Regions from separate parts of the Homo sapiens genome. Here all the other regions are linked to region 1. The links are contacts of gene promoters, found by promoter capture Hi-C in human tissues and cell types (Jung and others, 2019). All regions are on one chromosome and are shown on one strand. Each heading gives the region's core, a stretch centred on a gene start or on the middle of the fragment in contact. The rest is flanking DNA. Distances are from core to core; before and after follow the strand shown.

Evidence for each region. Contacts are between HindIII fragments. The study calls those that stand out against the background at their distance.
Region 2: a fragment that was not itself captured here is called in contact with the fragment with the promoter of DMRT3 in region 1 in 2 of the 25 tissues and cell types used here (dorsolateral prefrontal cortex and lymphoblastoid cells).
Region 3: a contact is called between a fragment that was not itself captured here and the fragment with the promoter of DMRT3 in region 1, in 3 of the 25 tissues and cell types used here (dorsolateral prefrontal cortex, hippocampus and thymus).

The regions. Positions count from the first base shown.
Region 1 is chr9:974,920-978,227 of GRCh38, forward strand. It overlaps DMRT3 (doublesex and mab-3 related transcription factor 3), which reads left to right and starts at 1,736. Exons shown (of 2, transcript NM_021240.4): 1 at 1,736-2,536. The coding sequence starts at 2,083. RefSeq lists enhancers at 1-369, 902-1,403, 1,404-1,903. The HindIII fragment of the contact is 20,406 bases long and covers 1-3,308 here.
Region 2 is chr9:390,983-394,290 of GRCh38, forward strand. The region is part of intron 24 of DOCK8 (dedicator of cytokinesis 8); the gene reads left to right. Among named protein-coding and RNA genes, the nearest start is that of DOCK8-AS2, 77 kb to the right of the region's middle. The HindIII fragment of the contact is 7,011 bases long and covers 1-3,308 here.
Region 3 is chr9:461,946-465,253 of GRCh38, forward strand. It overlaps DOCK8 (dedicator of cytokinesis 8), which reads left to right. Exons shown (of 48, transcript NM_203447.4): 47 at 1,572-1,742; 48 at 2,214-3,308. The coding sequence ends at 2,274. DOCK8-AS2 (DOCK8 antisense RNA 2) reads right to left here. Exons shown (of 2, transcript XR_002956871.2): 2 at 2,829-3,308. Among named protein-coding and RNA genes, the nearest start is that of DOCK8-AS2, 6.5 kb to the right of the region's middle. The HindIII fragment of the contact is 8,303 bases long and covers 1-3,308 here.

The sequences.
Region 1 (3,308 bases), core at 486-2,985:
GACTAGAGGAAGGATTAAAGTGGTGGGGGAAGGGGCAAGACCGAGGGGTCCCTACCCCACGCGGCTTTGGAGGATGGCCTCCCAGGGTTAGCACTCGAATGCTAGAGCTTCTTGTCCACACTCTACCAGGTCAGTGTCCCGCGATCCCCACCTCCCGGACGCGTATGAAACGGGAACAGCTAAGGGCTTCAAGGGAAACACACAACTGGGGTTCGGTTTTCAACCCTCCTCTCCGCAAATCAGCCTTCTGGGCAGAGGGTTGGCTGCTAGAACGCCTGGAGGTGCTTCCCTTGAATTCATGGCAAACACCAGAGGAAAGTTTTCAGGTTGCTTGCTTACTTCCAGGGCAGTACAGAGAAAAGCGGCCTCCCCGAGGGGACAAGGGCCTCTGTGCCCATGAGGGGTCGGACATTGCAGCGGACTTGCCTACGCTCTCATCTAGCATTTGATTCCCCACCAGGAGATGGGCTTGGTGCACGCTCTCAGAAGCGCATCCACCGAAGGCTCTGGAACTGCCCCGCTTCGCATAGAGCTATTGTGCTGCCCTGCAGTGTATCCACTTGTTTTGTTTGTTTGTTTGTTTTTTGGTTTTTGCTTGTTTGCTGATGGGCAGTGGGGAGGTGCGAGGGTGGAGGGCCTTCTTTGTGCATATATAGCGATAGTCTGCACTAGGCCAAGCCCGCTACTCCTGGGAGAATGGGAACACGCAAATAATCTAAACAAAGTTTTCTGCTGTCATCTTGTGAAGGACCCTCTCCCCCAAGACATCTATGACTGGGGTCTATGGGTTAAGGAGGTGAAAAAGTGGCCCCATCCCATATCCATAACTGAATCACAGAATCCGTGGGGATTTGAACTGAGTGGCTGGCGCAAGACCTCCGTTTGCTTCCAGTAGCTGCTGGGAGCGAGGGAAGAGGATATCGGTAACTTTGGGGGCGCCAATGTGGCTTCTGTGTCTGCCCCTTGAAAGTTTATACCCGGCGCTTAACAAATCCTTTACAGGAGCACGTACGTCCCTGACCTTTCAGGATACTGTTTTATATTAAAACATGGACAGGAGGGTAGAAAAGTAAAATTCGCCTGCAAAATGGCTTGTCATCCTTGGGCCGGCAGATCTCCAAAACCATTTTCTTCTAAAGCAACAAAAGAGAAAAAAATACGTTCTAAAAGGAAATTACGAAAAGAGCCTAACTTTCCTAAACCAACATCACTTCACTCCCCTATCCTAAACTCCACCCAGGTCCGGGGTGCAACCGCAACACTCCCGTAGGTTCGAGTTCTCCCGGAGCTGAGCTTCTGCGGCCAAATGTCGGGATAAAAGCGGCCTTGGGCTCGGAAAAACGCGGCCAGATCTGGACTGGAGGGAGGAGAAGAGAGAGAAGCGGAGCGGCCACCTCACTCGCTTACAGGCACCCCCACCCTCACTCCCGCTGGTCCTCCCCTTCTCCGCCCCGCGAGCACCGCCGCGTTCTGGAGCGCCGCAGTCTCCAGCCGCGGGCTGGGGTAGCGGAGAGGGCTTGGAGGAGGGGGCCGCGAGCGCCCCCGCGAGAGTGGCCTGGCTGCAGGTGGCAAGGAAGGTGAAGTGCAGGCACCCGAGGGGCGCAAAGGAGGAGGAAGGCGTGGGGCGGGGAGTGCAAGGAGACAGGGACCCCAGGGGCGGGGGTGGCGGTGGGAAGGAGGAGGGGTTGGGGGAGGGCGGCGGAGGTGTTGGGTCCGGCCGGCTCACGAGGGAGCTGCAGAAGAGCTGGCTCAGACCTTAATCAGAGCTGTCGCCGGCTCCTTGCAGCCGCCGCAGCGCCTCCGCGAAGGAGGACGTGCCGACCCGGCTGCGCGCCCAAGGCAGAGGCCCGCGTCGGCGTTGGCTGGGCGTGAGCTGGGAGGCCGAGCTGTGAGCGCGAAGGGAGCTGGAGAGACGACTGCGGCACCTCCGGCCGCCCCGGAGCACACACGACCACCGGGGCTGCGGGACCAAGGGCCGCGTCGCCCGGAGGCCGCCCCTGAGCGGGCCTCGCAGCCCCGCCGTCCAGCGCTCCCTGGCCCTCTCCCGCAGCCAGGCTGCCAACTCATTCGGGAGCCCGGGGCATGAACGGCTACGGCTCCCCCTACCTGTACATGGGCGGCCCGGTGTCGCAGCCGCCACGGGCGCCCCTGCAGCGCACGCCCAAGTGCGCGCGCTGCCGCAACCATGGCGTCCTGTCCTGGCTCAAGGGCCACAAGCGTTACTGCCGCTTCAAGGACTGCACCTGCGAGAAGTGCATCCTCATCATCGAGCGGCAGCGGGTCATGGCTGCGCAGGTGGCGCTGCGCCGGCAGCAGGCCAACGAGAGCTTGGAGAGCCTCATCCCCGACTCGCTGCGCGCTCTGCCAGGGCCCCCGCCGCCGGGGGACGCCGTCGCCGCCCCGCAGCCGCCGCCAGCCTCTCAGCCGTCGCAGCCGCAGCCGCCGCGCCCTGCTGCCGAGTTGGCCGCGGCCGCCGCGCTGCGTTGGACTGCCGAGCCGCAGCCCGGGGCTCTGCAGGCGCAGCTCGCCAAGCCAGGTAAGAGCGTCTGAGGTGCGGGAGTTTGGCCGGGCGCGGGGGCAACTTCGGAGTGCCAGCTGCAGCTCCACTTGGGAGGACTGGAGGCAAAGTTTTGGGACGTGGGCCTGTCGGGGCTTTCCTTCCTACTCTCCGCCAGGCCGGGGCTTCCTCTCCCGGGAGAAGCCGGCTGAGTCTGGACCCAGCGCGAGTGGCACTCGCGCCCGCAGGGAAGGCGCCTCCGGGCAGCCAAACGACGGGACTGTGCGTCAGTATCGCCAGGTGCCTTCCCAGGTTGAAGGGTTCGGAACGTGTCAGATTGAGCAGGGAGACAACGGAGTTGAGACAGGACAAAATTAAAACCCACGTGCGCACACTCACTACGGTGGGGTCGGATTTTCCTGGCTGCAGGCTTTAGAGGTCCTTGCCATTTGGGGGTTGGAATGGGTAGGTAGGTGTAGGGAAGGAGCCAAGGCCAACACTCGGCTGAGTCGAGCTGGCTGTGCTTCTCGGCCGGCCCGGCCCTGCCCAGGGCCCAGGAAAATTTGAGTGAGGACAAGTATCCAACTCTCAGAACCCTGGCCTTTCTAGCTTTGCTCCGTGGCCTCCAGACTCTTGTAACTGGTGAAATAAGTTCCATTTAGCAATGATAGTAAAAGGGTCCGGAAAGGCTTGTGAGCTGATAGCGGGAAAAGAATCTGATGCGCCCAGAATTCACTCCTTTGCAGAACCTCCTAGATCCTTTAACACTGTTCCCCAGGCTGCCCTCAGCTGTCTTCGTGGTTTAAAGGAA
Region 2 (3,308 bases), core at 420-2,919, 580 kb before region 1:
CATGACCTAAAAAGCCCTTGTATGATTCTGTTGTTTTCCTCCCTCTCTAACCTCATCTCACGCCACATTCCCCCATCATTCAGCCACATGGTCCTCTTTTGGTGCTTTGAAGATGCCAAGGCCATTTTGGCCTCACAGCCTTTTCCAGATTCTCTTCCTGCTCCCTAACTTTCACCTCCGCACCCCCAACACACACAGTTTCTATTCTTCTCTGTAGATTTCAGCTTCAGTGGAACCATCCCCAAGAGGCCTTTTCTGACCACCTAATACTGTAATATATCTTCCTCTATTATCCTCCTTCTGAGCACCCTATTTATTTCTTTCCTAGTGGTTATCACAATTTCTAATTGTTTTTTCTGTCTCAGCGGTTAGATTTTCAGGATTTGGGTCTCTCTTGTGTATTATCCCATCTCTAGCCTCAGCACACTGCTTGGTACCATGCAAGGCCCAATTAATATCTGTTGGAAAACAGAATGAAATTTGTATATCTGTTTATCCTAAAACTTCTACCATTACTCGAGCAGAAAAGCAAAAGGTATAGCCATAATACCTTAATTTTAAAATAAGGGGAATAATAGTGATAACTATTTTTTTGTTTAATTATTAATGGAAGCAAAAGGATTTTCCCATAGAGGCACTAAAAATAAACATTTTCTCAATGTTGATAAACAGAGATGCATAATGAGATGATGTTGAATGAAAGAGGTCTAAAGACATAGACACCAACTATATAAAAATATATATGCAAACAGTTCAGAGGATTTGGAGTAGGTTGAGATTTAGTGATAATGTTAGCTTTATATTCATTGGGTTCTTTCCCCTGTCCCATTAAGTGAATCTTTTTTTTTTTTTTTTTTTTTTTAAAGAGAGTCTAGGCTGGGTGTGGTGGCTCACACTTGTAATCCTAGCACTTTGGGAGGCTGAGGCAGGCAGGTCACTTGAAGTCAAGAGTTCGAGACCAGCCTGGCCAACGTGACAAAACCCATCCCTACTAAAAATACAAAAATTAGCCGGGTGTGGTGGCGGGTGCCTGTAATCCCATCTACTCAGGAGGCTGAGGCAGGAGAATTGCTTGAACCTGGGAGGCAGAGGCAGCAGTGAGCTGAGATTGCGCCATTGCACTGCAGCCTGGGCAAAAAGAGCAAAACTCCATCTAAAAAAAAAAAAAAAAGAGAGAGGGACTAAAGAGATGGGAGGGGTTCCACCTAAGCTCTAGTTTTTGTATGTAAGTTGAAGCCCAAGAAAAAGGGAGAAATGCTGAACAATAGGACACAGAGAACAAAGGGCAAAGGAAACAAATGAACCATCCACTGGGGAGGAAATAGGAAGCAATGTGGAATAGAGTTCAGAAGAAGTCAGGTTCATGCCACAGAAACACACCCAGGATTCAAATCCCATGAAGTTTTGCAAAGTCCCAACCTCTGTTTTGAGAAGGGTCCCAAAGCATGGTCCCAAATCCTTGCCACAGAACCACCTGGAGGTGCTTAGTAAAAATAAAGCAGAGATTCTTTCTCAAAGCACTAAAATTAGGAGGCTGGAGGCCAGCATTGTGCATTTACCTGTCTTCTCAGGTGACTTCTAAGCCTGTTAATGATCCACTGGTCTACACCACCTCTGTTCTGTGAATCCTATACAGAGCTACAGGTCTTTTGGAATTTGTACTCAGACAACACCAGAATTTTTTTTTCATTCCAAAAGCCGAGCTAATTAAGGTGGTGGCTGCAGCTCACAAGTCTTGGGGCAAGAGCATTAACAATGAGACATGAGCTCCATGCTCTGGCAGGAAAGGGACTGGGCCATAAGACCCATTCCCCTCTTGTTTCTTGAGGCATGAGAAGTATCAAAACCGTCACCCCATGCCCTTTATATCCTGCTTCTATTTACACATCCCACCCACCATCATGTCTCTCCATAAAGAAGATTCACTCAGCCTAGCTCTGCAAAAATGAAAAAATTACCTGGGTGTGGTAACATGTGCTTGTAGTCTCAGTTACTCAGCAGGCTGAGGCAGGAGCGTCACTGGAGCCTAGGAGTTCAAGGCTGCAGTGAGCCTTGATCATGCCATTGCACTCCAGCCTGGGCAACAGATTGAGACCCTGTCTCAAAAAAAAAAAAAAAAAAAAAAAAAAAAAGAAGAAGAAGAAGAAGATTCACTTGAGTCATAATCCAGCTATGGATAATTCATACAAATAATTCATTCCCAATGCGGAATTCAGCATTGCTTATTCTGAGTGGTTCCATGTGGCATCTTAGAGCTCTCTTTCCAAAGGAAGTTTGCATTCTCTGCAGGTGTAATGATGTCTCTGTTCTTCACAGAATCCCAATAATAGTTGGCATACCAATAGTTGGCATACCAATGGGAGAAAGAATAATCACATCAAAACTACTGAGCATCTTACTATATATGTGCCAGGCAGTGTTTTAAGCATTTTAAAGCATCATCTAATGTAATCATTATGCAATCTTGAGGCAGGAGGAACTTTTATTATCCCAAATTTACAGATGGGGTTGGAGGAAGGGTGGTGGCCATAAAGAGAGTCTCCAAGTCAGCCAAATGCTTCAGCAGTACCACTTCACTGCCCCTAACTGCTTTTGGCCTTGCACATTTATTTACTAGGGCTTCGTTGGCCCAGGAGAGAAAGCATAAGCTAAAGCACATGGCCCATCTTACCTCTAGGAAGTCCCTTATGGTAAACAGATGAAGTTTTTTGGGAAGAAAGCCCCTGCTGATCTAAGCATATTGCAGGGGTTTGTCAACATGCAGATCACCCAAGACACCAGTTCTACCAGCAGCCTAAAACCTAAGTCTGTCAGGTTCTGGCAGGACAGAGTTTCCGTTGCCCAAAAGGGTTAACTGAAAAGCATTGATCAAAAGGACTCTGCTCAGCATGTATGGGAGGTTCAGGGGCCAATGAGGATTGGTGAGAGCCCCCAGGGTACAGCAGCTGGCAGAAGCCTTTCTCTATGCTAGCTCTAAAGAATCAAGAGTATAGCAGAGTAACTGGGGCCTAGAAAAATCTGGAGGCAGATGAGACAATCTTAGAAAAGGAGCCTGGGGCCTTAGAAAAATGTTGCCACTACCAGGACCTCACTGCAGCAGGGATGAGGGCAGTGGAAGTGAGTAACTACCTGGGCCTCTCTGTTCTCCCACGTAATGATCCCCTTGTTTGTGCTCCTGTTGGCCAACTCCAACTGGAAGCCAAAGGTTAAGGGGGCCTGAGTGATGTGGTCCCTCGAGACCCCCTTCCCAGCATTCAGAGACAGACAGAGAAGGACAAGAAATCCATCAGGGAGCTGGGGTAGGGGCA
Region 3 (3,308 bases), core at 322-2,821, 510 kb before region 1:
TTTTATACCTTTTATTTATTTTCTTTTTTTTTTTCTAGTTACATGATTACTTAGGATTTTATACATTTTATTACCTCTCTATATTAACTTTGGTTTTTTACATTGTTTTATTATCTCTAATTCTTATTGGACTAATTCTTTTGTTTGATGCATCTGTTAGTTTTCCCTCGTGGTGGTTGGTTTCTTCATATGGTTTGTAATTTTTTATTGTGAGCTCATCTTTGGCGAGAGTGGCTCATATGCCCTGATTGAGAATGTGTTCCTCCAGAACAACTTTATGTTGGTTTGGCTGAATCCTAGCAATTTCAGTAATCTTGGACTGGCTTTTAAGTTATTTTCTCACCTTGAAGCACATACAGTCAAGGAATGTACATTTGTAACTTATACTATGTGTGGTGCAAGCCTAGAATTTCCATTTCTCAATATGACTTTCTTTTCCATAAATGGCCCTAAGCTGATAGCAAGTTTTCATTCTGCCTCTCTGGACATCTTGCAGCATTTTTCTAAACCCTCTTTCATAGATGGGATAGCTTTTCAAGGCTCTGGACGATATGCAGGTGGCATATCCAGAATCTCCCTTTGCCCTGGCCAAGGCCACATCACTAATCTTGTGTGAGCTTTGAAGCCCCTTCCCCTCAGCCCATAGACCTATACACAGTCCTAAAATCTTAATGGGCAGTCCTACTGACAGCTGCCTTGTCACCAGCTCCTGTGATCATTCTAGCTTTGATTTTTCTCTTTCTTTCTGGCACCTGGTGTTCCCCTTTCTCTTTCAACAAGTTTTTGCTGTGCTTTCCTAGCACTTCCATATGTACGTAGCAGGAGGAGGCTGAATGCCATCTGCTCTGTCTGCCATGTTGCTGTAAATCACAGTGAGTTTTTTGTAAGTGTAACAGCTTCCATTCTGCAGTGTGTTTTGAGTCTGACTCTTAGATCCATCACTTCCTCACAGTGTTATCTTGGGCAAGCATCCTAACATTTCTGAGTTTCAGAAACAAAATAGAGATAAATGCTGACTTTTTAGGGTTGTTGGGAAAATTAAACAGATAATGCATGTAAAACTTCTTGAAACTTCTTCTGGCACATAGCAAGTCAGAGGTTCTCAATTCTGGCTAGGTTGGCTTCAGTATCCCCTGGGCAACTTTTTAACATTAGACATTTCTGGGCCAGAAGCAATGGCCCACACTTGTAGTCCCAGCTACCCAGGAGGCTGAGGTAGGAGGATCACTGGGGCCCAGGAGGTCGAAGTTTGCCATGAGCTGTGATCATGCCACTGCACTCCAGCCTGGGTGATAGAGTGAGCCCCGTCTCAAAAAATAATAAAATAAGGTAAAAAAAAAAAACAAACACAGAGATTTCTGGGTGCTACCCCTCAGCAGTTATGATTCATTAAGTCTGAGATAGATCCCAGAAATCTGCATTTTGAAAAGCTCCACAGGTGATCCCGATATGCCACCCAGTTTGAAAACGTTCTTAAAGTTATTCGAAAAATCGTAAGTAATTTCATTGTTCTCAGATTTCTAAGCACTTCAAAGTCATTTATTTCTCCCACACTGATATTTTCATCTCAGATGTGGTGAAGCTGTAGAGAAAAACAAGCGTCTCATCACGGCAGACCAGAGGGAATATCAGCAGGAACTCAAAAAGAACTATAACAAGCTAAAAGAGAACCTCAGGCCAATGATCGAGCGGAAAATTCCAGAACTGTACAAGCCAATATTCAGAGTTGAGAGTCAAAAGAGGTAAGAACAGGGCAGAGGAGGCCTCTTCCTGTGGGATAAAGAGCAGCGCATGGGGCCTAGCACCTTGGGGCATGCTCTGCTGCACTTGGGGAGCTGCAGAACCTCGAAAGGGTGGAAGAGGGTCCCACAGTCAGAGAGGCTACCAGAGTGTGATTCATTCTGCCTCTGTCCTCCCCATCCCTGCTCCTTGACCTCTCCCAGACACCTTGGTGTTGGTCTTGTGCCAGGGTATTCCCAGGGCTGAATGATGGCCTGTGTTGGTTTTTTTGTTTGTTTGGTTGGTTTGTATGTTTGTTTTGGCACAGTGTGAAGGGGTCGCAGACCTTTCACTTATTATTTGCTGAGTTGTCCATGACTGATGTCCATTTCTACTGGGTGATCCACCCCCAACCCTTTCTAAAAGGCTAACTGATCTTTTCTTGCTTCTGTACGCTCTCTTTCCCTCTCCTCCCTCTCTTTTCTTAATTTCAGGGACTCCTTCCACAGATCTAGTTTCAGGAAATGTGAAACCCAGTTGTCACAGGGCAGCTAAGAAAAGCCATCTTCATTCGTGGAGACTGTGGCCCTGCAACCCTGGAGAAGGACTTGCTGGTACTTAAAAAATGGGACATTTGCCACCCAGGACTGACTGTACACTCCCTGATCAGCCAGCACTCTGGAAGCTTTGGGATCCCAGGAACCATGGAATTATTCCCAAATGGACTCTGACCAGATTTTTGCCATACTGGGGGGTGGCGGGATGGAGGATGGGTACTCAGGCATGACTGCGTATTTATTAAAGTGTGTTTTTCCACAATGTACCAAACAAGGCATAAGCAGCTTCTCCTGCTGACTGGCCAATCACTGCCCATCTGAGAGATGATTTCCTCTGGCCCATATTTGAATTTATTGGAGTAACTCAAATTGCCTGAGGAAAAATGGAAAAATTATCCACCAGTCGATTCAAACTGAATTTCACTCTTTATAGGAAGGCAGGGCAAACTTGTAGGAGTACGAAACATTTTCAATAAATCTACAAAGGGAAGCCTTACTACAATTCCAAAAATCATCATGGTTGGAAATTTGGGAGGAGATTATTTGTGAACTTGTTACCCTTTTGGTAATGGTGGACTAATTGCTGTATAGTTATTTTTGTTTTATTATTACTGTTACATTAATTTAACATGCATTTATAGAAGAATACATTCAAAGCACTGATGTAGGAGATACACGGTACTTGGAGCAGTCAGCCAGAAATCACAGATACTGCTTTCACTTAAATGGAAACAATTCTCCGATAATGCTTTGCTTTTTTTCTTATGTCACTCTTGTGTACTATCTATTTTTCTCCTCTCTGGGACCAAGTTTCTTTTTATAAAGCAATAATATCTCTGTTTTCATTTCAGAACATTGTGCTGTCTGTCAGCATATGTATATCAGCTACAAAATATATTCAACTTTGACTTCTTTTGACAAAGGACTTTAGGAAAAAGAGGAACAAAGACATTATTTGAGAATTAAATTATATATTTTTAATATGACTGTGACCTTGACTGATAATAAAGATGTAATAAGAATTGCAAGCTA